4 separate regions of the Homo sapiens genome follow, and regions 1, 2 and 3 are each linked to region 4. Evidence: promoter capture Hi-C in 16 types of primary human blood cells and fetal thymus (Javierre and others, 2016). All regions are on one chromosome and are shown on one strand. Each heading gives the region's core, a stretch centred on a gene start or on the middle of the fragment in contact. The rest is flanking DNA. Distances are from core to core; before and after follow the strand shown.

Region 1 (7,203 bases), core at 2,522-5,021, 460 kb after region 4:
AGTTCCATCATGAGGTCCTGGGGGTTAGGACTTCAACACAGGAATTTGTGCAGGGACGCATTTCAGCCCATAGCACCTTCAGAGATAGTTTCAGTGCAAGACGCTTTCCAAGTTATGTAAGAAATAGGGATGTATTTTCTTGGAATATTGTTTATTCCCAGGAAGATAAAATTTGAAGATTCACTTAATCCAAGTTCATTTAGTAATTAATTTAGCTTTTTATGTGCAAAGTGGGTTAACAAATGTGCCTGTGTCAGTAGGAGGCATGCCTGTGACTTGACTCGTGGGTTTAGAAACGATCTGAGGAAACTGCATTCCTTCAGACTTTCCGTCACTCTCCTGGATCATCCCCATTGAGCCTGAGCCACAACTAAATCTGAAATTTTCCTACTGAAATGCCCTGTGTTTAGTGGCTATATCACAGGAAAGAAGGAACAGTGAGCTGCCAGCTTTGGTATGTGAATCTCCATCAAGATCTTCAAGGACTTCTTTGTGGAAAATTGTTTATCTTACCACAGAAATCAAGTTACTAATCTATTCTGTTTCCCCCACCCCCAGCCCTCAAACCATACCCTAAATTCAAGAGAGACAGTTTTGGTGCTCAGTGGCCCCGCTTTTTCCTGGAAAAGATAAATTGCTACTAAGCCGTCATTTGTGTCCTTGGGTAAAGAATGTAGTGGTTCTGTTACGAAGTGTAAGGATTTATCCCCCTGCCAGGGTGTGTTTCAACTCATTATTTTAGTGTTTGGACAGATATAATTCTATATTAGTTATCAGTTGCTACGTAACAAATGATCCTAAAACCTGGTGGCTTCAGGCATCGATTATCTCATGGTTTCTGTGTGTCAGAAAGTCAGTAGCAGCTTAGCTGGGTGACTCTGGCCCAGGGTCTCTTAGGAGGTCGTCACTGAGATGTTGGCTACAGCTGTAGTCATCTGAAGGCCTGACTGAGGTGGGAGGATCTCCTTCAAATCTTCCTCAGGTAGCTCTTGGTGGGAGGTCCCTATCCTACATGGCTCTTGGCTGGAGGCCTCAGTTCCTGGCTTTGGAGGCAGCCTCTCCATAGGGCTCCTTGAATGTTGCCATGACATGGCAGCCAGCTTCTCCCAGAGCAAGTGATCCAAGAGAAAGACAGAAGTTACACACTCTGCCTTGGAAATCACATGCCTTCTTCTATTGTCTTCTATTGGTTATACAAACCAACCCTGATACTGTGTGGGAGGGAACTGTGAATACCAGAGGTGGGGATCATTGAGGTGGTCTTGGCTATCATGGCTACTATGAATCCTTACAGTGATTTCCATCATTGATGTATGTAGGGTTTTAACCTGTAACTGGAGTGACTCTAGGTCAGTGGTTCTTAATTGGAGGTTCCCCAAGGGACGTTGGCGGTGTCTGGAGACATCTTTCTTTGTTTAACTGGGAGATTGGGTAGTGGTGTGCCACTGGCATCTAGTTGGTAGAGGCCAAGGATGCTGCTAAATACCATCCAATGCATGGCACAGTCCCCACCGCTTAGAATTATTGAGCCCAAAATACCAGTTATGCTAAGATCGAGAAACCCTGCTCTAGATCGTTCCTTCAAATTATAGTCTAAATTAAGGTAATTATTTTCTGAAATTTATTTGCAAAGTAATACATGAGTCTATTTAATGCTTGTTATGTATACATCCTATTCCAAAGGTTGACAATCAAGTCTGATAGAAACCTATTTTACATTCTGCTGGTAGGAAGAATTAGATTGTTTTCTAGCCACCTGGAAGCAGCACACAGGAAAGAAGCAGGAATTAGCCATTGAATCCAAATGTTCAACAAATGCTATTTCAGCTGAAGTGCCACCTTCCAAAGTGCCTGCACTACTATATAATAAGTGCATTCTAATATAGTAAAAGCTGATTTGTTTTTAGTAGAAAAAAGATTTTTTATTAGGGCATTGTTCTTAGACGTAGCTTTCAATTCGACCAAGAAACAGAGATATCTTTAAATTGTTTACTTTGGGCTTTAATTCTTAGAAAGTCAACTTTTATTGATACGTATTTTTTTTAGTAATAGTTTATTGCTATCTACTGTTATCATAAGGTGTTACCTACACAGTACTAAAACAAGTAGTTGATCTCAGTAGCTCCATTAAAAATAATTAGGTCCATTGATTAAATAATGTTCAGTTAAAATTCCCCTTTAATATTTATCTATTGGTGTTGGTTCTTGGGGTTTGAAAGAAACTGTTGTAGACTCATTTTTAAATTCAATTCTGTGTAATTTTGATGTTTGATTTGTTATTTAGTTCTTTTAATTATTAAGCACCTATTATTTGCCAGCCACTGTGCAGCTTAATTGATATCTCCAAATGGATGTCAATAGATTCTTGAAGTTTAACATATTCCAAATGAAAGTTTTTCCTTTCCTTTCAAAATTTGTTCCTTTATGTCTTACATCAATAGATGGTATTATGAAATCACCCAGTTGGTTAAACTTAAAATAAAAGCAATAGCAAAACCTAGAAAGACAAAATACCTAGGAATCAGCCTTTTTCTCATGGCCCACGTCCAGGCCAACAGTGAATCCTGTTGGTTAAACATCTAGAAGGTGTTTCAGATCTGTCCACATTTCTTCTCCTAACTAGCTAGTTAGTCTAAAACCATATCTGAGGATATTTCTTCTATTATTCTCTATCACAGTATCCTGTTTATTTCCCTCATGGCACCTATCACAAGCTGTAACTAATTACTTTGTGTATTTATTATCTTTCCTAGTAGAATGTCTAAGATCTTTGTCAGTAGGGACTTTGTATCTTTGGTTCCTAGCATAGTGCCCCACAGGTATATTTATGGATTTTATGGAATTCATTTACTGAAAATGTGGCAGACACTACAAAGTGCCATACACTCTTCCAGGCCCTGGGAATATACCAGTGGTCAAAACTAAGGTTCCCTAGCCCTGTAGAGCACACCTTCATATTGGTGTTAACTTTAATATGTTTTCAACGGCATGTCATGATGTTGTTGAGCTCGGGGAAGGTAGTGCATATGCTAGATCCTCTGAGAATATGCATGCCCCCATTTTAGAAGCAAGGGTAGAGAACATGAGGGAGGCAGTTGCTCCGTGGGCAGGCCAGGCCTTGGGTTGAGATCAATGTCATACCAAGAGTAGTACGATGTTAAAAAATGAGTTGTGTATACAGTGAAATTTCATGCAGTCATATTTATAAGCTACATGCTTACAGTGAAAATATTTGAGGCTATAAACTCCATAAGCTTTAGAATCCATTTGGTTCCATTTCTTTGATCTGATATAGACGACTAATTTCCTGAAGAATATCTTTTCTTTCAAAGATACTAGCATATGGTTTATATTAAAGGGATTCTTTATTTAGGAGAGCATTACCCTTAAGAAAATAATCGTTCACAGTTAGTCCAGTTCTCTGTTTATGGAGAAGTAAAATGCGTTCCAGATGGAGGAGATTTATGTAAAAAGAATCTCTCATAATGAAACTTTAAAAACAGGGACTTCAATTTCAAAATGATTGTTTGGATCAGCAGGTACATCTTCCCTCACAGAGTTTTAGTTAGAATCACTTTCTCTATTTCCACAAATCCTTCTTTTCTTTCCTTTTATTTTCTTTCTCTCTCTCTTTTTTTTTTTTTTTTCCAAGTTGACTTAAGCCAGGCTGGCAATTTCCAACTATTATGTACCTCTTGGTAGATAAGTATCCTCCAGCAGTTAAAGCTAGGTAAGGGCTCTAGGCATCCTCCTTACAGTTTGGCGACCAGGTTATAATGAAAGCACGTCCGGATTCTGCACCCTCATATCTATTTATCAAAAGGCAGTTGCTGAAAACAGTTTTGTAAGTTGCATGCAGCCCAGCTCTGTTTAATTTCTCTAACCAAACGTTTACCTGAAAGATTTACTGAGGCAAATGTGACAGTATCAGTGACAGAATATGGTCTGCACCAGGCAACCAGCATCTTCCAGATCACTGGCTGCACACAGCCATTTAGTATCAAGCTCTAGGAGCACCCCCAACAATACAGCCTCCTGGACTTGCTGGAGTCTCAACACTTGTTCCCTTGACCCCGGATTGGGGAGGGTCTATATATATCTTTCTTTGTTTTTATTTATGTATTTATCTTTTTTTAAGGCTCTATTTGAAGTTAATATATATCTCTTTCTAATCAGTCCATGGCTTAATGCCACTCATGTTACCCTAGTGATTTCTAATATCCATTATACTAAGTAATGAGGCCACTTAGTGCATGTGAAAACTCATTTTACTAACAACAAAGCTTCTGGTTTGGTTTGGAGATTAAGATAGCTAAAGCATTTAAGGTGGCCATCTGGCCTTTGGATTAAGTGCTAGCTCATTACTCCTAGAATGGATTTTCTCATTTAGGGCAAATAGCTAACACACATGCATAGCACCCTATCTGTGCTGATGTGTTTTAATGCATACTGCAGATCATGTAATAACTTTAGATGCCAAATTAAGAAGGGGGAAAATATGTTCAGAATATGAAACAAACCTGCATTGCCCCTAAATTAAGTTGCTAACTAATAACTAATCTAGTTTTAGTTACTATAGATACATTATAATCACCCCAGAAAAGATTCTAGAAATCGATGTCAATTCAGAACAAACAAAATTTTTGAAACTAATTAAGATAATTTTCATTTTATTTTCTTCAGGGTATGAAAATATCAAATATCCGGGTTTCCCTATTGCACATTTTGAGTGAAATCCTTAACAAGTTATATTTGATTATATATGAGAGAATTCTAGTTGTCTTTGCTGTTGAGAGCTCTCACAGTACACGTGTAATTTCACTTGTTTCTGGATTGGTATACAATAAGCGTTATCAAAATGTGTAGCTGTAATTAATACACAAGGTACTTGTCACGTTTTGGGGGTTTTCCATGCTTTTGTTTTTACTGGTGAAGTTCCGATTGAATATTCTAAGTACCATAATCTGACCTTTATGCAAATCAATTATGGAGTGGGCATTTTCGGCACAGATTTCTTCACATAATGTTTAAAGATAGCGTTCCCACTTAAAAGTAAAACTCGTATTTTCCAATTTAGTCTAGATGTGTGTTTCAATAAAAATGTTAATTCTGAAAGTATTTATTATAGATGTGAGGAGAAAGCTTTTTTAACTTTTAACAGATATTCTCTCCCCTCGGCCTGCCGCCAAGGAAGAAAGAAAAGTCACCTTTGCTTATCTGGCCAAGTGGCCAACACTCAAGTGACGTCAGGTCCCATGGCCTGCATCTTACCTGATTTGCCAGCGTATCCAACATGAAGGGGAATAATCTAAGTCCTAGATCACTTGGGGATATTCAGTAAAGTTTTTCATTTTTGCTTCTGAAATTTCACTTTGTCAGGTTGTCAAAGTGCTTGGCTATGTCTTGTAAAATATCTGAGTATGAGTGTCATTTAGCTAGAAAGTTGATAATTTTCAACTTCATAAGGTTTTTGTTTTGTTAAAGTGTTTTTAAAATAGAATACATGTTAGTGCTTTGGCTTATAACTGAGATTTATTGGTTACCAAATATATTTTCAGAAATACCGTTCTCTTTTGCCTCCTTCCACACCACAGGCCCCTGCAGCCCTGTCTCCTTCATCATTGTTCTCCATGCATCTCTTCTTTCACTGCTCTTTGCTTGGCCCTTTGCATCTAGCCGAAAGATATTTCACTGGCACTCACTATCATGGCTAGTGCCACTATGGACCCTAGGTGTGAAAAGGACACCAAGCTAGGGAACTGATGAGGAATAGAGTGTTGCATGTTGGTGACTTTGCTTATTTATCTAAGTAAGTGACCACATGTCTGAATTATTTTGGAACATTTCTCTACAGCTCACCTGTTCAGAGGCCCCAAATCTTTTTTTTTTTTTTTTAAGTACAATTTCCATTTTATTTTTCTCCAGAGAATAGTCTGTCTTCAGTCTTTAAGAACTCAGCTCCTTACATGGGCTTTGGTGGGAGACATGGGGCAGCACCCGCAGGTCTAAATCGGGGTGGGGGTGTTCGGTCCTTGCGGGCTTCACGAGATCGATTCCTGACTACTTTGCTGTGAATTGCACAACTCACACGGTAATGTAGCTTCACACACAGCTTGGGAAGCACATAGGCATCGAAGACACTTGCTTCAGAATGCCCCTGACTGCTGCGGCCTCCACTGTGTTTCGAATGACGAATTTCTTAATGGCCTTGTCCTTGGGCATGCATCGGGCACAGTTAGTGCAGCGAATAGCCTGCACGTGGCCGCGGCCCTTTTCAGCACGACCTTTGTTCCTTCTTTTCTTTGTCATCTTGGAGGCACGGACCGGAGAGGAGAGGCCCCAAATCTTAATTTTCTCCCATTTCTCCTTTGTTTGTTTTTGTTACTGAGTTTTTATTTTATAATCCTAAACTTAACTACAATCCAGCTTGATGTCGAGGGGAATAAGGAAACCAAAGAACTGCAGTGAGACCACAAAGATTACAGGATATTGTGAGCAAGTGGGATGGAGGGATGCTCTCCTGAGCTACAGAAAGAATGATTTGGTGGTTAAGATCAAACACAAGCAGATTGATTAGAGTTGTCCGCAGTTGGCAGTGGTGATCTTCTTGCCAGTCTCACCATTCCCGGACCCAGAGCACTCCATGGCTTCCATGATATTCACTCCCTCTTCTCACTTTGCCAAAGACCTTGTGCTTGCCATCCAGCCACTCAGTCTTGGCCACACAGGTGAAAAACTGGGAACCATTTGTGTCGGGCCAGCATTTGCCATGGACAAGATGCCAGGACCTGTGTGCTTCAGGATGAAGTTCTCATCATCAAATTTCTCCTGGTAGATGGACTGGCATTATTATGGTGTGTGAAGTCAGCACTCTGGCAGATAAAATAAACCCTGGAATAATTCTGTGAAAGCAGGAACCCTTATAACCAAATCCTTTTCCTCCAGTGCTCAGTGCACGAAAGTTTTCCACTGTTTTTGGAACTTTGTCGGCAAACAGCTCGAAGGAGCTGCATGGGCCAAAGGAGTTACCATCAACAATGATGTCAAAAGAACACAGTGGCGTTGACCATGGCTAGAGGCAGGTGGCTTCAGGTGGCAGCGATGACTACAAAGCCCCATTTCTCCTTTGAACCTAACTTCCTTTCCTATTTTAATGTCCCGTGAAGGTAGGGAAAAATAAATTCACTAAATATACGGTAAATA
Region 2 (6,799 bases), core at 3,054-5,553, 490 kb before region 4:
AAAACCAAATGAAAAGAGAATCGGGTGTACATCCAGGGATACCTATGATCTCATGATCTTACCTGCTTTTCTGAGTGAAGGTCAGTGAGTGAAATTGCTGGATTTCCTCATAGGTTTGGGGCATCAGGAAAGTAGAAACACCAAACAAACCAGAGAGAAGTGGAGTTAGACAGTTCAGCCTTGGGAATCAGATAACCCTGGGAAATCCTTTCTATATATGTCTGTGGTGATGTATGTTTGATATTAGTATTAAATTGTGCCCATATTGTCACTTTTATTTTCTAACAGGTGTTTATTTTCTAACAGGTGTCTATATATATATATATATATATATATATATATATATATATATATATGACTGTGGTTCTAATGTGTCATTTTTGAGATTGTGAAAAAAATATTTTTACATTTTTTCCCCTTGAATAACAGCTTTTTAAAAGCATGCACTAGGGCTCACAGGAGCTACCAGTGACTGGTTCCAACATTAAGTTCAGAGGAGCAATAACACCTCAGGGGCAATATACTCATTTTGATGGTCATAGCTGGTTACTAATGCACTTTCAAAGTATCTTTACATACCTCTGACCCACTTGCATTTGCAGTAAACCATGGACAAATCCTGTGTAATTCCTGATTTGAAAAGTGGCTCTTGCAAGATGATATGAGAGTTGGGATAGGCTTTGAATGTGAATTTTCTTCTTTCCTTCCCTTTCCTATTGCATTCTTCCCCCTTCTTCGAAGGTACGTGAAATTGAATAATTATTATAGAGAAGAAATCCAAAATCTTGACATCTTGGCTATTTGGTGCCAATGGCATAAAGTAAGGCTTCCAGCTGGGCACAGTGGCTCATGCCTGTAATCCCAGCATTTTGGGAGGCCAAGGTGGGAGGCTTGTTTGAGCCCTGGAGTTCAAGACTAACTTGGGCAACATAGCGAGACCCCATCTCTACAAATAATAAAAATAATTAGCCAGGTGCAGAGGCACGCACCTGTAGTCCCAGCTACTCAGGAGGCTGAGGTGGGAGGATCCCTTGAGCTCTGGAGGTCAAGGGTGTGGTGAGAGATGATTGTACCACTGCACTCCCGCCTGGGTGACAGAGTGAGACCCTGTTTCAAATAAATGAATGGATGAATGAATGAATGAGAGAGAGAGAGAGAGAGAAAGACTTCAAAGAAACACACCTGTCGTTTTAGTAAAGTGGAAGAAAGTCATACTTCTGTTTGGCATGCTAATTAGTATACTTGAGACCAACTCTGTGCTTAAAATCTTAGTCTAAGGAATCAAAAATTTTCTTCCAGTTTTGCCTGGGTTTGTCTCTTGCTACATGAAATAGTCTTCCAAAGGCTTTAAAGTTCTAAACTAAAAGTGAAATTAATATAGCTTTTGTGATATACAGATTTATTTAAAATTTTTTAGTGCCTTCTGTGTAAAAAAATGCAATAATTGGTATTATGATAGTAGTTAACATCTTCCAAGTACGACATTAGACAGTTTGCACACATTTTACACATTGTTTCATCCCACCAGAATGCAAACAGCACCGATAACAAGAATCTATGCTTTGTATGGGTGGAGATTTTGGTCCATTTGTCTATATTCTATTTTTTCTTCATGCCCATTAATGAGAGCAATGCCGACTATATAATAACTACGAAGTAAATGTTTTTGGAATGAAAAATTATTGAATCCTCCAGCTACTTTCTGTTCATATGTTGCCAGTAGGTGATATGCTATTAGCTGTTCACTCCATATTGTGGGACAGCGTGTGTACAGCGAAGGGTGATTTTCAGTTTCTGCCTTCTGTCTAGTGGATATGCACCTTATCTATATAAAAGGTTAAATAATAGGGTAGCAATTGTTTCTGGATGATATGGGAGATGTGAACAAGGCTAGAAGAATTATAAATAATGGAGATATGAGTGAATATATATAAATCACCTGGAGCCGTGTCTGTACAGGGCAAATGCTTACTGCATGTTAACTGTTGTTATTGCTATTGTAACATCATTGTCATCATTTTGTTTTTTGTTTGTTTTTGTTTTGTTTTTGAGATGGAGCCTCACTTTGTTGCCCAGGTTGGAGTGCAGTGGCGCAATCTTGGCTCACTGCAACATCCGCCTCCTGAGTTCAAGCAATTCTTCCTGCCTCAGCCTCCCAAGTAGCTGGGATTACAGGCGCCCGCCACCATGCCTAGCTAATTTTTGTGTTTTTAGTAGAGACAGGGTTTTACCATGTTGGCCGGGCTGGTCTGGAACTCCTGACCTCAGGTGATCCACCTGCGTTGGCCTCCCAAAGTGCTGGGATTACAGGTGTGAGCCACCGCACCCAGCCTATCATTTTGTTTTAATTGACATATAATAATTATACATATTTATGGGGTACATAGTGATGTTTTCATACATGTAATATATAATGAGCCAGTCAGGATAATTAGCACATTCATAATCTCAAACATTTTTCATTTCTTTGTGTTGGGAACATTCTATATCGTCCTTCTAGCTACTGGAGACTTTATTGTTAACTGTAGTCATCCTACAGTGGTGAATAGAACACTCAAACTTATTCCTCCTGTCCAACTATAATTGTGTGTCCCTTAACAAATCTCTTGCTCTCCCCCTTCTCCCTACTCTCCCCAGTTTCTGGTGTGCTCTGTTCTACTTTTTACTTCTATGAGATCAACTTTTGTTTTTAGCTTCTGCGTATGAGTAAGAACATGCAGTGTTTAGCTTTCTGTTCCTGGCTTATTTTACTTAATATAATAACGTCCTCCAGCTCCATCCATGTTGCTGTGAATGGCAGGATTTTATTCTTTTTTATGGCTAAATTGTATTCCGTTGTGTATGTATACCACACTTTCTTTATCCATTCATCTGTTGTTGGATAGGTTGATTCCATATTTTGCCTACTGTGAATAGTGCTGCAGTAAACATGTGGGTGTGGATATCTCTTCAAAATACTGATTTTCTTTCCTTTGGATAAGTGCCCAGTAGGGGGATTGCTGGATCATATGGTAGCTCTAGTTATAGTTTTTTGGGGAACCCCCATACTGCTCTCCATAGTGGCTGTACTAGTTTACATTTCCACCATCTGTGTATAAGAGTTCCTGTTTCACAACATCCTCACAAGCATTTATTTTGTGTTTTTGATGATAGCCATTCTAAGTGGAATGAGATGATACCTCATTGTGATTTGGATTTGCAGTTCCCTGACGATTAGTAATGCTGAGCAATTTGTATATATTTGTTGGCGCATTTGTGTGTCATTTTTTGAGAAATGTCTGGTCAGATCATTTGTCTGTCTTTCACATATTTTGTGTATCTTTTTTTTTTTTTTTTTTTTTGGAAATAGAGTCTCACTATGTTATCCAGGCTTAAGTAATCCTCCCACCTCAGCCTGAGTAGCTGGGACTATAGGTGCATGCCACCATGCCTAGCTCATTTGCCCATTTTTCCATCCAATTATTATTATGATTTTTGCCATTGAGATATTTTGAGTTCCTTACATATTTTGCATATTAATCCTCTGTTGGATAAACAGTTTGCAAATATTTTCTCCTATAGATTGTCTTTTCACTCTATTGACTGTTTCCTTTGCTGTGCAGAAGCTTTTTAGTTTGTTGTAATCTCATTCGTTTCTTTTTGCTTTTGTTGCCTGTGCTTGTGAGGTCTGACTCATAAAATCTTTTCCCAGATCAACATCCTGAAGTGTTTTCCTTGTTTTTGCCTGGTACTTTTATGGTTTTGGGTTTTACATTTAGGTCTTTGAATCATTTTGAGTTGATTTTTTCCTTAGGGTGATAGATGGGTGTCCAGGTTCATTCTTATGCATGTGCATATTCAGTTTCCCAACACCATTTATTGAAGAGACTGTCTTCCCCCAGTGAGTATTCTTGGCACCTCTGTTAAAAATGAGTAGGCTTGGCTGGGTTCACATCTGTGATCCCAGCATTTTGGGAGGCTGAGGTGGGCAGATTGGAGTTTGAGGCCAGCCTGGGCAACATGGTGAAACCCCGTCTCTACAAAAATTATCTGAGTGTGGTGGCGTGTGCCTGTAATCCCAACTACTCAGGAGACTGAGGTGGGAGGCTCACTTGAGCCTGGGAGGCACAGGTTGCAGTGACTCAAGATTGCATCACTGCACTCCAGCTGGGTTATAGAGTGAGACTCTGCCTCGGAAAAAAAAAAAAAGATCAGTTGGCTCTAGATACATGGATTAATTTCTGGGTTCTCTATTCTGTTCCATTGGTCTGTGTGTTTGTTTTTATGTCAGTATCATAAAAACAGCATTGTAGTACATTACTACAGCTTTGTGGTATATTTTGAAGTCTGGTAGTGTGATGCCTCCAGCTTTGTTCTTTTTGCTTAGGATCGCTTGTCTCTTCAGGGTCTTTTGTGGTTCCATGCAGATTTTTAAGATTTTTTTCTATTGCTGTGAAGAATGTTATTGGTATTTTGATAGAGATTGCATTGAATCTGTAGATTGCTTTGGGTAGTATAGTCATTTTAACAATATTAATTCTTCCAATCCATGAGCATGAAATAACTTTGCCTTTGTCTGTATCCTCTTCAATTTCTTTCATCAGTGTTTTGTAGTTTTTCTTTTAGAGATCTTTCACCTCCTTGGTTAAATTTATTCCTAGGTAATTTTGGCGGGGGGATTGCTATTGTAAATGAGATTGTCTTCTTGATTTCTTTTTCAACTAGTTCATTATTTATAGAAACACCACTTACTGATTTTTGTATGTTGATTTTGTATTCTGCAACTTTACTAAATTTGTTTATCAGTTCTGAGAGGTTTTTTTTTGGTAGTCTTTAGGCTTTTCTCTCTATAAGATCATGTTTTCTGCAAACAGAAACAATTTGACTTTCTCCTTTCCAATTTTAATGCCATTTATTACTTTCTCTTGTCTGATTACCATGGCTAAGACTTCCAGTACTGTGTTGAGTAAGAGTGATGAGAGTGGGCATCCTTGTCTTCTAGTTCTCAGAGGCAAAGCTTTCACCTTTTCTGTATGATGTTAGCTGTGGGTTTGTCATATATGGCCTTTATTGTGTTGAGGTACTTTCCTTCTATACCTAGTTTATTGAGAGTTTTTAATTGAGATGTTGAATTTTATCAAATTTTTTTCTGCATCTATTCAGATTATCATGTGGGTTTTGTCCTTTATAGTTGATGTGATATATCACATTTATTGATTTGTGTATGTTGAACCATTCCTGCATTCATTGGATAAATTCCACTTGATCATGGTATATTATCTTTTTGATGTATTGTTGGATTTCATTTGCTAGTATTGAGGATTTTTGTGTGTATATTTATCAGGGATATTGGCCTGAACTTTTCTTTTTCTGTTGTATTCTTGTCTGCTTTTGATATCAGGGTTATTCTGGCCTCTTAGCATGAGTTAGGTAGAATACCCTCACTTCAATTTTTTGGAATAGTTTGAGAAGAATTGGTATGCATTTTTCTTTAAAGGTTTGGTAGAATTCAGTATGAAAGCCATTCAGTCCTGGACTTTTCTTTGTTGGCAGATTATATTATTGATTCAATCTCATTACTTGTTATTGGTCTGTTCAGGTTTTAAAAAAATTTCTTCTTGGTTCAATCTTGATAGGTTGTATGTGTCCAGGAATTTATCCATTTCCTCTAGGTTTTTTAATTTATTGGTGTAGAGTTGTTTGTAGTATCCTGTAATGATTCTTTGTATTTCTGTGGCATCCATTGTCATGTCTCCTTTTTCTTGCCTGATTTTATTTGTTTGAGTCATCTCTCTTTTTTTCTTAGTCTAGCTAATGGTATCTCAATTTTATCTTTACACAAAACCAACTTTTATTTTGTTGATTTTTTAAATACATTTTTTATTTCAATTTCATTTATTTCTCCTCTGATCTTTATTATTTCTTTCCTTTACTAATTTTGGGTTTGGTTTATTCTTGTTTTCCTAGTTTCCTTGAGATACATTGTTAGGGTATTTGAAATCTTTCTAGTTTTTTATTGTAGGCATTTATTGTTATACACTTGCCTCATAGTACTACTTTTGCTGTGTCCCATAGGTTTCGGTATGTTGTGCCTCTATTTTCATTTACTTCAAGGAATTTTAAAATTCCATTCTTAATTTTGTCCTTCACTCACTGGCTGTTCAAGAGCATGTTGTTTAATTTCCATGTGTTTGTATCATTTTGCATGTTCCTCATGTTATTGATATTTTCCACTGTGGTTAAATAGGATACTTGGTATGATTTCAATTTCTAAAAAAATTTTTGAGACTTGTTTTGTGTCCTAACATATGGTCAGTCCATGTTCTATGTGCTGTTGACAAGAATGTATATTCTGTAGCTGTTGGGTGAAATGTTCCATAAATATCTGTTAGGTCTGTTTGTTCTGTGGTGTAGTTTAAATATGATGTTTCTTTGTTGATTTTCTGTCTGAATGATCTGTCCAATGCTGAGAGTGAGATGTTAGAATCTCCAGCTATTACTCTATTTGAGTCTATCTCTCCCTTTAGAGCTAATAATGTTTGCTTTATATATCTGAGTGCTCTGGTATTGAATGTGTATATATTTACAGTTGTTACATTCTCTTGTTGAATTGATCCCTTTATTATTATGTAATGTCCTTCTTTGTCTAATTTCACAACTTTTGACTTGAAGTCTGTTTTGTCTGATATAAGTACAGCTACTCCTGCTTGCTTTTGGTTTTTGTTTGCGTAGAATATCTTTTTCCATACCTTTGCTTTCAGTCTATGTGTGTCTGTAGGTCAGGTGAGTTTCTTCTATGCAGCATATAGTTGAGTCTAGT
Region 3 (7,639 bases), core at 4,903-7,402, 260 kb after region 4:
TGCTTTTAGAGAATCCCAAGCTTAGAAGGAGAGAAAGCTAATTCTTCTGTTGACTTGGTGAATCAGCCTGGGCACCTCGCTATTGGTCAGCCTGCCATGGATTGCTGCATTGATTGCCTTCCCTGTCACTTGCTGCATCCAATGACGGTCCAATCAATCCATTCAAAAGTATTAGGATGAATAGAAGTGAGCATCAAAAATATAGGATTACATTCGAGAACACAGAAAGGTCTTCTATAAATCAATAAAAATGCAAAGCAACTTGATTTTTAAAATATGCATCAAATGTGAATAAGATACCGAAGAAAAAATGGCTGTATACAGATGTATAAGTTCACCTATCAGACTGGCAAAAGTTTAAGAGATTGATAACATACTATATTGGTGAGTGTCTTAGTCAGTCTGGGCTGCTCTAACAAATTACCATAGACTGGGAATCTTAAACATTTCTTTCTCACAGTTCTGGAGGCTGGGAAGTCCAAGATCAGGGTGCCTGGAGAGGCAGTGTCTGCTGAAGTTCAGCTTGCTGGTTTGCAGATGGCTGTCATCCTATTGCTCCCTCACATGGCAGACAGCAAAGAGAGAGAAAGCAAGCTCTTTCTTTTCTAAGAGAGAGGGCACTAAACCCATCGTGAGGACACCACCCTTAGGAGCTAATTACCTCCCAAAGGCTGAATATCCAAGTACCATTACGTTGGAGATTACGGTTTGATATGGTTTTTCTGTGTTCCCATTCTAATCTCAACTTGAATTGTATCTCACAAAATTCCCACATGTCATGGGAGGGACCCAGGGGGAGGTAACTGAGTCGTGGGGGCCGGTCTTTCCCATGCTATTCTCCTGATAGTGAATAAGTCTCAGGAGATCTGAAGGGTTTATCAGGGGTTTCCGCTTTTGCTTCCCTTTCATTTTCTCTTGCCGCCGCCACGTAAGAAGTGCCTTTCACCTCCTGCCATGATTCTGAAACCTCCCCAGGCATGTGGAACTGTGGGTCCAATTTAAACCTCTTTCTCTTCCTAGTCTTGGGTATGTGTTTATCAGCAGCGTGAAAACGGACTAATATAGGGTTTCAACATATGAATTTTGGGGGCACAGATTCAGTTCACAGCACTGAGGAGCAGGGAAATGAAGACTCTACATTTTGGGTTGGAATTTAAACTTGTGAATTAGACTGGTAAAGTCTTCAGAGGCTCAGATATGATGTGTGAGCCTTGTGACTTCTGAGGATGAAGGCTGTGTTCTGGCAGCTCTCTCACCAGTGGCAAAAAACAGAAAAGTATCCTTTCCATTGGATATCCTGCTACAGAATGAATTTTCACATTGAACATTTAATTTCCCATTTAAATAAATCCACCTGGAATTTGATTTGTATATGTCTGTTTTCCAAATAATGAGCTAGTTGTGATCGCATGATTTGTGGCTTAATCTCTACTTTCCCCACTGGGATATGCCATGACAGCATTTAATGCATTCCTATAGAAACTTGGGTTTATTCTGAACTTTCTATTCTCTTGATTGTATCAAGGATCATAAACTGGGACCCTGTAACCCGTTTCAGGCCTCCAGATCCAGATTTGTGTTTGGTCTTGTTTTGGTTTTGGTCAGAAGTGTCTTTGAAAATTGTGGATTTTCATGCCTTTAGGCAGCTCACAAAGTCAGGGCTATCTTAGAGCAAGATACTTGCCCAAGCTCTTAGAGCACTTGAGGATTTTGCCGGAGTGACACTAGCAACATGCTGTTTTAACACTTTCACCTTAGAACACATTTTGGTGTCTGGCAGTGGACATTCCCTCTCATTCTTCTTTTGTGATGGTTCCTTAAGTACTCAATTCTCTAGATAAACTTTTACATTGTTCTGTCAACATCTGCGGGGGGAAAAACTCTTTGAGATTCTGATTGCAATCGCATTAAATTCCTAAATTCATTTGGATTGAATGTACAGTTTTACCATATTGAAACATCATTTAGACATTTTGTAAGTCTCTATTCAGTTCTTTTATATTCTCAGTGAAAATTTTTAGTGTTTCTTCTTTTAATTGAGATGCAGTCTCACTCTGTCACCCAGGCTTGAGTGCAGTGGCGTTAACTCGCCTCACTGCAGCCTTCGCCTCCCAGGCTCAAATGATCCTCCCACTTCAACCTCCTGAGTAGCTGGCAGTACAGGCATGCGCCACCACACCCAGGCTAGTTTTTTATACTTTGGTGGAGACAGGGTTTCGCCAAGTTGCCCAGGCTGGTCTTGCACTGCTGCGCTCAAGCAATCCTCCTGCCTTGGCCTCCCAAAGTGCTGGAATTACAGTTGTGAGCCAATGTTAGGGGGCTTGTCGACCAGCATACAGGGGCCTTGGAGGCTGCTTCAAAAGTTCCCACTAAGCCAAGGATACAAAGCCTGGTGACAGCCCTCCCATGTGAGGCCCAGGTCTTACTTACCTCGCTCAAAAAATCTTTCCTGCTCATTTCATTCGAGAGTGATTTTGCTTTCTTTGGGATCTCTATTGCGCTGCCCCACCCAGAGAGTTCCAAATCTGAATGGACTCCAATGATGAAGTTAAATCAGCCCCCACCTCAGTCCTTTGGAATTAGAATCTGTGGGGCTGGGTCCTGGCATCTGTATCTTAATGTTCCTAGTTGAGATCCTTAGGCTGAAAGGCTGGTATTTGCAAAGCACTTCTTCTCCTCCAAACTCAGCCTCCGAACTAGCTGGGACTACAGGTGTGTGCCACCACACCAGGCTAATTTTAAATTTTTTTGGAGAGACGGAGTCTCACAACGTTACTCAGACTCATCTCCAACTCCTGGGTTCAAGTGATTCTCCAGCCTTGGCCTCCCAAAGTGTAGGGATGACAGGCAGGAGCCACCATGCCAGCCAATAAAGCCCTTCTGTTTCACTCTAATGATATCTTTGGTGCATAGCTACAGCCATTGTTGTATTAACCTGCATCACTGAAGGAAAAGAGAAGGGGAGAAGTGATAGTTTTGCTTTTCCCTGAACATATCAGATGAAACCTGAACTGTTTAGCTCATTTTTGGACAATGTATTGACATAATTTAAGATGGCTGCCTTATTGTAGCCTGTCTACAGAAGGTGCCTAGAAGACAGAGGAATATGTAAAACTGGCTTGAAGAGTGATTAATCAGAACTTTACGTGGTACAGAAGAGAAATTTTAATGGCAACAGAATATTGATCTTCTAATGTTTGAAAGCCTATTAAATAGGAGAGAAAGATGATTTTCTGTTTTGTTGTAAAAGGATCCAACCAGTTCTGATGGTTGAAAGCATCGTGAATGCGAAGGTCCACTCAATGTAAGCAGAGTTTCCTAACAATTGGACTTCCACAGCGACGGGATCTGCCTCCTCATTCAGTTGTGCCTTTCCCATCAGCGAGAGACTCCTAGGAGCCCATTAGGAAGCTGTGCCAGAACTCACAGGTTCTTTGGATGGTATCTGAGATAGTATCCAGCTCTTACATTTTTATTTTTTCCGAAAAAAATATTTTTGAGACTGAGTCTCACTCTGTCCTCCAGGCTGGTGTGCAGTGGTGCAATCATAGCTCACTGCAGCCTCAAACACTTGGGCTGAAGCAATCCTCCTGCCTCAGCCTCCCAAGTACTGGGACCACAGGTGTGTGCCACGATTCCTGATTACTTTGTTTATATTTTGTAGAGATGACGTTTTGCTATGTTGCCCAGACTAATCTTGAACTCCTAACCTCAAGTGACGCCCTGCCTTGGCCTCCCAAAGGAGGGAGATTATGAGCAGGAGCCCCTGGGCCTGGCTGAGATTTTCCCCTTAGTCTTTTTATACACAGGATATTTTATTCATAAAATACATAAATAGTAGGCAAATTTTGGGGTCAAGTGAAATAGATATGTTGTAATAGTTGATATATAGACCAGAGTTCCTTAGCTGAACTGGAGGGCAGGCTTTAGGTGATCCATGGATGCCCTGAACTTGTGGACACCATTGAAAATCTGTACGAAACCATGGACAGTCTCCTGTGATTTTCATTCCTCAAAATGTCTCTTGGACTCAAAGATGCCTGAGAGCAAAGGATGCATGTTCCCCTACTATAGGATCCAGGATAGTGAATATCAGTAAACATTCAGCAAAAAAGCTTTGCCACATTGAGTACTTCGACGTAACGTCTCCATTCAACAAGTCAATTTACCCAGGATCTCCTGTATATGTTAATCTCACTCTTGGAAGGACTCATCATTCTGCTTACCCTAAATTTCCTTCCACCTTCCTCCCTCTCTCACCAGACTAGACTCTGAAATGGGAAGGAGAAGCGGGGAGGAGAGCCCAACACCCCCTCAAGTTTAGAGTGGAGAGGACACAGCCTCTGCTGGGACAGGGAAAAGAGGAATGTGGAGACCCTGAGGATGCTTTTGGACAATGCTCAGAGGTTGGGACATTGCCAGGAGATACCGTTCACCCCGGATCTCCAAGAAAAGAGATCAGTCTGGCAGTTACATGTGTTTTTCTTCAAAGTAGTTGCCAGTTTGGAATGACCGATGACATCAGAGATTCCGACTTTCCTGATTGGAAGGACCGGACTCTGGTTGCTTGGGAGTTCAGGTGGACAACAGCAACTTCTCAGAACTACTCTTCACTCCTAACTTCTCCCGAGCCTCTAGAAGAGAAACGCACTCTTCTGGGTCCTAACGGAGTCTGGAAGAAGGCTTTGGACAGAACAGGGACTAGGTTTTGTGGACAGAAACAAAGTGTTTGGGAGAGATTATGGCCAGTGGTCAAGCGCGCCCCCCGTTTGAGGAGGAGAGCCCCCAGCCTAGCACAACGGTACGGTCCCCCGAGGTGGTGGTGGATGATGAAGTGCCAGGACCATCAGGTGAGGTGACTGGAGGGAGAAGCGATGGGAGATGATTGACTGAGGAGAGGGAAGGGGGCCAGTTACTGGGAATCTGAAGCACCTGAGTAGGGTGTGTGGGAAAGAAACGACGGACTCAGGAAGCCAGGGATCGGGGAAGGAGGGTGCAGGGAATGGGGCCAAGCATGGCCACGTGTAAAGAAAGTCTGGGGAGCAATGAAGGGGGTCAGGAGATGTGCTCAAAAGATGAGAGAGGAAGGCCGAGGCGGACGGATCACGAGGTCAGAAGATCGAGACCATCCTGGTTAACACGATGAAACCCTGTCTCTACCAAAAATACAAAAGTGAGTTGGGCATGGTGGTGCGTGCCTGTAGTCCCAGCTACTCAAGAGGCTGAGGCAGGAGAATCATTTGAACCCAGGAGGCGGAGGTTGCAGTGAACCAAGATTGTGCCACTGCACTCCGGTCTGGGCAACAAGAGGGAGACTCCATCTCAAAAAAAAAAAAAAGAGAGAGAGAGAGAGAGAGCAGACAGAGCTCAAGGGAAGGTTTCCATTTTTCTCCAATTGAAAGTTCTTATCTGTGATGAGGAAATGTTTTGAGGACAGAGAGCCGGAAGAATGGGGAGGTGAGGGAGAGGCAGATGGGGATCAGCAAAGGAGAAAGGTGGAAACATGGCTTGGAGAAGCTGACAGTCTGCGAGGCTTGGGAGGATGGAAGAGTAGTTTGAGGTTCCTGGGTCGGGGCGTCTAAGGTGATCAATGGCAGAAACATGACACCATGGCCTGGTTTCTTCACTCAGCCCCTTGGATAGATCCCAGCCCCCAGCCTCAATCCCTTGGCCTGAAAAGGAAGAGCGAATGGTCAGACGAATCCGAGGAGGAGCTGGAGGAGGAGCTGGAGTTGGAGCGCGCCCCTGAGCCCGAGGACACCTGGGTGGTGGAGACGCTGTGTGGGCTCAAGATGAAGCTGAAGCGAAAGCGAGCATCCTCCGTGCTCCCTGAGCACCACGAGGCCTTCAACAGGCTCCTTGGTAGGAGGATACCCCAAAAAGCACCTCCAACCCTGTTCTTTTAAAAAAGTGGAATCTTTCAATAATCACACTTTCCCAATAAGAAGAATATGCCCTCCTGGGGGATGAGCGCTCCATGCAGGAGGAGGATGCTTAGGAGATAGAGGATTAGGCTAGTCTTAATAAAGGTCTGCACTTGAAATAAGAAAGCTTGGTTTCTGGCCAGGTGCAGTGGCTCATGCCTGAGATCTTGGTGCTTTGGGAGGCTGAGGCGGGAGGATCTCTTGAACTCAGGAGTTTGAAGTTGCAATGAGCTATGATTGCACCACTGCACTCCAGCCTGGTTGACAAGGAAAGACCCTGTCATAAAATAAATAAAATAAAATAAAATAAAAGATAAAAGAAAGCTTGGTTTCAGCTGTACCCTCTGAAACTCTATGTCTCTTGATGACTTTTCTAAACCTAAGTGTCTCCATCCGTGGAGGGGGATAACAAGGCCATGGGCACACCCAGCTGTGACTATCTCAGGAAGCAATGATGGGAATTCTATTATGACTTCTGCAGTGGTCCCTTCCTGTCTGATGGGAGGACATCATGGCTTATTCACAGCTCTTCATCCTGTAGACTCTGACACCAGAGGCCTCCTTCGGCCTCTCCTCAGGGGAATCTCAGAGCGGGAGCCTCCCTCCTTGCCCAGTGAAAGTCCTTCTCTCCTCTCCCATCCACCTAAGCCTTGGCCACAATCCTGAGACTTCCCCCAGAGGGACACAGTTCTCCTCTCTGCTCTGCTGCTCCCACGGCAACCCTGTTCCACTTCTCACCCTGACACAGGCTCTCTTTTCACAGGGGATCCTGTCGTTCAAAAATTCCTGGCCTGGGACAAAGACCTGAGGGTGTCAGACAAGGTAAGGTTGTTCTCCACTCAACTGTGTTCCTGCTTTAACACACGTCCTGGGGAAGGGTGCAGCGTCTAAACCCACAGTTTCTCTCCTCTCTCCCTCTACCATCTCCCACCTGCTGATTCCATACTCTTGGGCGCCCACATTTTGATTTTTATTTTTTCAGAAACAGGGTCTCGTTCTGTTGCCCAGGCTGGAATGCAGTGTTGCCATCATAGCTCACTGCAGCCTCAGCCTCCTGGGCTCAAGTGATCCTCCCGCCTCGGCCTCTCCAATAGCTGGGACTCCAGGCGTGAGTCACCGCCCCCAGCTATTCTAGGTCTTCTCATAATTTGTCAGCATCTCCCTCGGGGCTCTGGTAGCCTGTTGCATAGTTGATGGGTGGCCCCTGCCTCTGCACAGGGTCCTTTGGAATCCAGGCCCTGGGCCAGTCTTGAAACTCCTGACCCCTATCCTCTCAGATCTTTGGGACAGTCCTTTGCCCCAGCTCACCAAGACCCTCCTGACATTAGCAGCCCTAGACACTCTCCCTCCAGTGATCCCACTGGAGCTCATCATCATGGGAGCATCACAGACCTCCCTCCCTCCGACTTCCCGGATTTGCAGCTGACTTTGAACACTCTCCACCCGCAAGCCCCCAATGAGCATAGTCACCCAACACTGAGGTTCCTTCTGTGATAGACAACCGCGCCCCAGCCCCTGTTCCCTTCTCTCCACCATCTTCCTCTTCCAGGATGTGACCAACCTTTCTCTCTCTCTACTCCCTTCTCTCCATCAGTATCTCCTGGCTATGGTCATAGCGTATTTTAGCCGTGCCGGCCTCTTCTCGTGGCAATACCAACGCATTCATTTCTTCCTGGCTCTGTGAGTAGTTTGCTTCTTCCCATCTGTCAATATCC
Region 4 (6,603 bases), core at 3,392-5,891:
GGGCACAGGGTTAACCTAGGGAAGGGTACCATTTCAATTTATTATAAATCACATATCATTATTTTATAAAAGCAAAGACCAAACAGCACAGTAATAGGCTCATTGTTATTAAGACTGATTATGGGAATTAAAAAATATATACTTCTTGACTTTGCCATAGTTGTAAATACTCTGGGTAGCTTGACTTTATATGTCAACAGCGTGAAATTCGCAAGAAGAGATTATGTTGGGAGGAAAATCTGAGCCTCTGATAGTCCAAAGTTACTTTTGAAGGATTTATTAATGCTTTTTCCTAGCACAGTGCCCTTTAGTATCTCAGAACACCTGTCAAATACTAATTCATTCACATATCTCCACTACAGGGCCTTTTCATAAAAAGCTCAACCTTTAATTGTAAATCACCCCTAAATTGTCCTTGCTGTCTTTCTCTTTTACAGAATGATGGAAAAATCACTAAGACTTCAATTAAGACTTTATGGGAACTTCAATCTGATGTTCCCAGCTATATCTACAAGGTATCAGAACATCTATTCAAAAAGGAAACTATAAATAACTTTAACATAGTTGAATTGGCTTTGCTTTTATGAGATGACTGAATAATTGGCAAGATTTAAAGATACTTTAACTACTGGGAATTAAAATAACTTCAGTAAAACCCAGAAAAATATTGTTAGCCAATCATTTGTCATGTAGATTATGTACTTATTAAGCCTAATTAAACTTTTTGAACAAAAACGGTTACTAATTACATTCGTTAATATGTTGATTGCTCAATTTAGCCAATAAAAAAAAAGGTCAATCCAATTTGTGTGCATAGTTAGTGCTTTGGTCAAGAGACAAAATCCCAAACTATAGAGATTATTTCAAGTGCATGACCATCATTATAACAAACGCAGGTTACGTGTCCACATCCAAACTGACGGCAAGACCTGGGGGTGGGTGGTGAATCTGAACAATACCAACGCTAAGGCAAATCTTCAAGCCAGAGAAATTTCACCACCACATCAAGTTTATTCGCCTAAATGTATTCACTTGCATTTGTCCAATTAGACCCTGATGGTGACAAGACAAAGTTATCTTTCATATGCACATACAAACTAAAACTGATAGCAAAACCCTGGGAATCCCTTTAAATGTCAATAAAGGGCTTTTACGCACAAAGGGAAGAAAAGAAAAGAGGAAGGAGGGGGAAAAGAAGAGATGGGAAAAACCAACATTTCCGAGGGAACTGAGCAGATCAAAGGAATTTTATTCTAGAAGACTACTAAGTCGGAGTGTAACTACACTCTCTCTCTCTCTGCGAAATCTTGAAAAGTGTCTTCAGACTGGAAACTAGTTCTGATCCTTAAAAGAAAGGGGACAAACAATTATGTCTGCAAGAGCGGGACACGAGCGTAAAAATGGAGGCCTCCCTTGCAACAGGAGGCGGGAGGCCCGGCGTCTTCAGACCAGGACGCCTGACTGGGCCTCTGCGGCGATCCGGCCCTCCAAGACATGTTTTCCATTCCCTTGCTCAAAACTCTGCATCCACAGTCATGAGGCACAAACTATTCGACAACAACATGACACAATTAATCAGAACCAGACCTCAAAACGTGTGTTTGTGGGGACCAGCAAACTTTGAAATGTGCCTAAGAGGGGCAAAGCAATTGAAGAGCCTCACACTGGCTGTTTGAGATGGGGAGATGGAGAGGAAAAATCTGTACGTTCATAAAGGATGCACACCAAATGGGACATTTACAGACTAAATAATTTTCGCTCAAATAAATGTGGGCTTTGGAGCTTTACTTCCCATACTGAAAAAGTAAGGTGTAGTCTTGCTACCTCCCCTCACCCTTTTTTTCTTTTTATGGGGAGAAACTGATTTCTGAGAGCTTCTGCAGCAGCAAAGTCGTCCAATTCAGAAGCAGAACGTATCCTTTTTTAGCTTCATTTCTGACCCAGCCGTATTCACCCGGTTTTGTCAGATTTCTCTTTCAGGAAATGAAACCCTATTTAAAAAGTGAGAAGCTGGACCCTTAGTTAATTCAAAACTGTTTAATTTCACCAAAGCCTGAAGCTAATAAAAAAAATCTGGTATACTTTTTTAGACCAGAATTGAATTCGTTTAAAATAATTACTGAACGCTCCGTTGTAATCAGCAGATAGTAATTAATTGAAATCACATCATTCTTCTTTTGCTAACACAAACACGCTGTTCAAAAGAGAGACAAAAATAGTTTCAAATCATGAAAAGACAAATGGAGGGCAGGAGTGATACTCGTCGGGTACCGAACTGACCCCAAACTACAAACAGTTCTTTGCCATCTCCCAAGGGATTTGTAGGTGTGGAGTTGGAACTTCCCAGGAACTGGGCCGGGGTCCCCAACCGCGAGCCCAGCTGCAGCCTTGGGAAAGGGGGGTGGGTGCAGGTGAATCCCAGCGTCCAACCCAACGAGGGGGAAGGCAATGAATGTTTGCGTTTGGATCCAGGGTTAGCGGAGACCTATCTGCAAATGTTCTGCCAAACCCCCTCCCGGGAACATTTCTCCTGCTGCTTCTTGGCTTCGCAGAGAGCACTGGGCGCAAATTCGGGCGTCCACCACGAGCGCCACGCGAGCGAGTGGACCTGCTCTGAGCCCTCCCGGGTCCCGGGCATCGGCGAACGCGCCTCCCGCCGTTCCCTCGACCCGCGCTCCTATGAACTCGCCGCTGCGAGGCCCAGCAGCTCCCGCCCGCGGCCCCACCCGCCGCCGGCTCCGCCGCCGCACCCCACTCACCCACGCACTCGTTGGCTTCGCGGGCTGTGGCGCGCTGCCAGGGCCGGTCGTAGTGGAAGGGCTTGCAGCGGTCGCACTCCGGGCCGGCCGTGTTGTGCCTGCAGTCGCACACCAGGCTGTCGTCGCGGTCGCGCACGCAGCGGGCCGCGTGGCCGTTGCACTTGCACCGGCCGCCCACCTGCAGGTCGGACACCGCGTAGAAGTACGAGTCGCGCGCCAGCTCCGAGTCGTCCTCGTTCTCGTCGCCGAACGTGTGCAGGCGGCTGAAGGCCACGCGGATGTCTGTGGCCGTGACCCAGTCCTGCAGCACGGGCGAGTTGTCGAAGTCGTGCGCCGAGGGCCGCCCGTCCAGCGTGCTGAAGGCGATGAGGCCGCCCGAGAGCGGGCGCATGTCGGTGTGCGAGTCGGTGCACACGGCCTCCTGCTCGTTCTGCTTGGTGATGGGCGCGCGGTGCGGCCGGTTGTACATCTTGCGGCACTGCGTGGAGTAGAACTGGAAGGGCACCCACGTGCGCCCGTAGTCCATGGACTTGTAGATGGCCATGGACTCGGGCCGCGGCGAGCAGAACTGCAGGCTCACGTAGGTCACTTCGAACTTCTTGCCGAGGGACAGTGTGAGCGTGACGTTGTGCGGGAACTGCAGGTAGTTCTCGGACTGCCAGCACGTCAGGTTGTGCGGGTTGTTGAGGTCGGTGAGGAAGGCGGGCGGGTGCGCCTTCTTGGGGTCGGACGCGTTGCAGAGGTGGCACGAGCGCAGCCGCTCCTCGCCGCGCTCGCTCACCACGCAGTAGCGCGCCGGGGGCCGGCCGCAGGTGCTGGACACGCGCACGTCCTTGCCGAAGGCCGCATTGACAAAGTCCGGGATGCAGCGGCGCGGGTGGCCGTTCTCGTCCGAGCAGGGATCGGGCTGCGCCGCCTGGCCCGCGAACATGCTGAGCCCGGGCCCGCCGCGCACCGCGCCCACCAGGCACGCCACCGCCGCCAGCGCCGCCAGCGCCTCCCACACTGCGCGCATCATGCTGCGTCCAGCTTGCCCCGGCCCTGCCGCGCCGAGGATCTGTCCGCCTGCCGCAGAAGGCGCCTGCGGAGAGAAGGGAGCTGCGCTCAGCCAGCCCGCCCCGCGCCCTCCAGCTCTCGGCGGGGTGGCGAGCGGAGATGCGGGAGAACGCCCGGCTTCCTGGGCACCCACCCCGCAGCCGACTGCCCGCCTCTCTCCCCCAAAGTCCCGCGGGCGGCGAAGCCGGGGCCCTCCAAGTCCGCACCGCTCGCGCCCCTTCTTCCCCGCCCGGCGGGAGAACGCTCTGCTTCCCCGCCACCGCCGCCCCCACGCCGCCCGAGGGGCATGCCTGAGCCGGTCTCCCCGTCCGCGACCAGCCCCCCTCGCACCCCAAGTTTCGGGCGCAGGAGAGCTGGGGGACCCCGACTCTGCACGGCCCGCGCCCCTTCGTCTCGCAGCCCGGGGTCCCTCTCAGATGCCCCCCGATCGCGTCCCCGCCGGAAAGTCCGCGTTCGGGACTTTACCTCTGGAGGGGGCAAAAGAGAAAGAAAAGTTTGCCTGGCCCCTCCGGGGAGCCCGCGCGCCGGTCGCCGGAGAGCCTCTCGCTCGCTGCTAGCAGGCGCGTCCCGCCTCAGCGCGGGCTTGCCAGCTCCATGCCCGGCGCGGCCGCCGCTGCCCCAGCCCCAGCCCCGGTCCCGGCCCCGCCGCCGCCTCTCTCGCCCGAGTGACTACGCGGCCGCCCGGCTCCCGCCGCTCCCGCCGAGCTCGGAGTGCTGCCCTGCCCGCGCCCGGGGCGCACACACACTCACGCTGGCCGGCGCGCACTCACACACACGCGCGCTCGCCCCCGAAGGCTCCGCCGCCGCCGCCACTCGCGCTGGGAGTGAGGGGCGGAGGGGAGCGCGGGGGCGGGGGGCGGGGCCGCCGGGCGGGGCGCCGGCCAATAACGTCCGCGAGCTGCCGCCAGCTCCGAGCAAAGTTTTCACCCCGGGAAAGAAGAAAGTTAAAGGGAACCGGCCCGGACGCCCGAGAGGGAGAGCACAGGCGGGTGGGAACCCGGGAGCCCGAGAAAGAACAGCAGAGACAAAGAGAAAGCGAGGAGAGCACCCGGGGAAACCCCGGAGAGGGGGCTGGGCCGGGCCAGGCGCGCACCCCGTGGGGGAGGAGGGGCCGCCGGGGACTGTCAGCCTCGCCCGCGCCCCGCGCCGCCCGGAGAGCCTCACGCCCGGGGGAGCGCGCGGGCGGGGGAAGGGGGCCACTTTCTCCCTCCCGGTCCCAGCCAAACACATCTGTGTTTGTTTTCTTTGCTGCGCGGAGGTCGGGCCTTCCTCTAACCCAGCCTGATGGCCCCCGGTGGCACCGCGCACAGGGCTGTGCCCCTGTGGGCACGCAGCCCGGGAGCGTGAGGAAGAGGAGGAGGATGTGACCTCTGCCTGCTCTCCATTTTTGCCCGAAGCCCCCGGGGTCCGGCGAGGAGGGGCTGCTCGCCCGCACTCCCACGGATATCACCGTGCGTGAGCCTGTCTGTCGGGAACGCGGCTTCGTTCTAGCCAAGGGAGCAGTGGTGGGCAGGAGGCTGAAGGGGTAGGAAGCTGGCAGCACCTGGACGCTGGCCACCGCCCCTCCAAGACGGGCCTGCCTGGTCTCAGGCATGGGGACAGCCCAGCCCTCCCCAGATCCCCTGAGGCAGGCGTATCGGTACTTCCTCAACCGCATTTTTAAGGGTGCAAAGCCCTGTAATAGCTCATGGGACCTCCACAGCAGCTTTGCTGTTGTATTAACTCCATTTTGCAGATGAGGAAACTGAGGGTCCCGGGAGCTGAAGAAACTCGCACAAGATCAACCCCCAAGTAAACATCAAAAACAGGAAGAGAAGCCTGGGCTCCTTCCACTGCAGGGCATTCGTCAAATGCATAACCTTGCCGAATGATGGTGTCATGGGGCATCTGCGGGGCCACCCAGCCCCTCCTTGCCTCATTCTCCATCGCCCCAATAAAAAGACTGAGGACAGTGACAGCATCCTTTGGTCATCTTGCAACAGCAGCCAGAGAGCTCTGGGAAAGGAATACACTGGGCCGAGAGTTTGGAACGGAATCTCTGCTCGTTTATTTGTTACTTGTAGATGTGTGGTCCAGTAATAGACCCGGATGAAAAGCCCCAGGTCCTGGTTCCGGCCCAAGGGCTGCCTTGCTGCATTAGCTCCATTAAGTGCCTCAGTTTGTCTTATTGGCATTTTCATAAACCCTGAGAATCTAAGAAGGGGCCTCGGGGCTCGTCTGGCCCAGCTCCGTCTCCTTGGAAGAAGGCCTTCCCCAGCCTCCCAGAGAGACGGCCACCCAAGCCAGCTCTTCCAGGGATGGGAGCTCACCACAGCTCAAGAAAATAAATCCATTCCATTGCAGGACAGCCTGGATTCATCTTCTTACCCCGGGGTAGCAATTTAGCTGTGCCTTCTTGTGCCGTTTACCACACTCTGCACTGTTTATTTATGCCTTACCTCACCTTGTGGCAGAAAGGATTTCAGGTAACTTACAAGGGTACATAAAATATGACACAATAACAAATTAAAAGTGAGGTCAAAGGAAATAAATGAAATGGTTAACCATGGTGACCTGTGAAATCGCAATGGTATACTGAAAGGCAGCATAGCTCTTAGGAGGAAACGCTTCGGAGCCAGGGTACCTGGGTTCAAATTCTGCCTCTGCTGTGTGACTATGGAAAGTCTATGCCTTGGTTTCCTCCATCTGTACAAGGGAGATAATACTTTCTACCCCACTGGGTTGTGAGCATCACGTGAGTTGACACATTTGAATATTATAGCTGATGGGATATAGACATACATATTGC

Evidence for each region. The method cuts DNA at HindIII sites, captures the fragments that hold promoters and counts their contacts. A CHiCAGO score of 5 or more calls a contact.
Region 1: a fragment that was not itself captured here is called in contact with the fragment with the promoter of NTN1 in region 4 in 1 of 17 cell types (naive CD4 T cells); the score reaches 5.7 in naive CD4 T cells.
Region 2: a contact is called between a fragment that was not itself captured here and the fragment with the promoter of NTN1 in region 4, in 1 of 17 cell types (endothelial precursors). The highest score is 6.4, in endothelial precursors.
Region 3: a fragment that was not itself captured here is called in contact with the fragment with the promoter of NTN1 in region 4 in 5 of 17 cell types (naive CD4 T cells, naive CD8 T cells, total CD4 T cells and 2 more); the score reaches 6.0 in naive CD4 T cells.

Annotation. Positions count from the first base shown.
Region 1 is chr17:8,560,336-8,567,538 of GRCh38, reverse strand. All of the region lies in intron 7 of MYH10 (myosin heavy chain 10), which reads left to right. It also overlaps the pseudogene PPIAP52 and the pseudogene RPS26P53. Among named protein-coding and RNA genes, the nearest start is that of MYH10, 67 kb to the left of the region's middle. The HindIII fragment of the contact is 1,029 bases long and covers 3,257-4,285 here.
Region 2 is chr17:9,509,856-9,516,654 of GRCh38, reverse strand. The region is part of intron 4 of STX8 (syntaxin 8); the gene reads left to right. Among named protein-coding and RNA genes, the nearest start is that of STX8, 63 kb to the left of the region's middle. The HindIII fragment of the contact is 1,391 bases long and covers 3,608-4,998 here.
Region 3 is chr17:8,755,485-8,763,123 of GRCh38, reverse strand. It overlaps SPDYE4 (speedy/RINGO cell cycle regulator family member E4), which reads left to right and starts at 4,578. Exons shown (of 7, transcript NM_001394956.1): 1 at 4,578-4,850; 2 at 5,632-5,862; 3 at 6,688-6,746; 4 at 7,519-7,604. The coding sequence starts at 4,742. The HindIII fragment of the contact is 197 bases long and covers 6,054-6,250 here.
Region 4 is chr17:9,019,548-9,026,150 of GRCh38, reverse strand. NTN1 (netrin 1) reads right to left here and starts at 4,641. Exons shown (of 7, transcript NM_004822.3): 1 at 4,566-4,641; 2 at 2,760-3,840. The coding sequence starts at 3,777. RefSeq lists silencers at 4,390-5,179, 5,230-5,279 and an enhancer at 4,700-5,243. The HindIII fragment of the contact is 7,248 bases long and covers 1-6,603 here.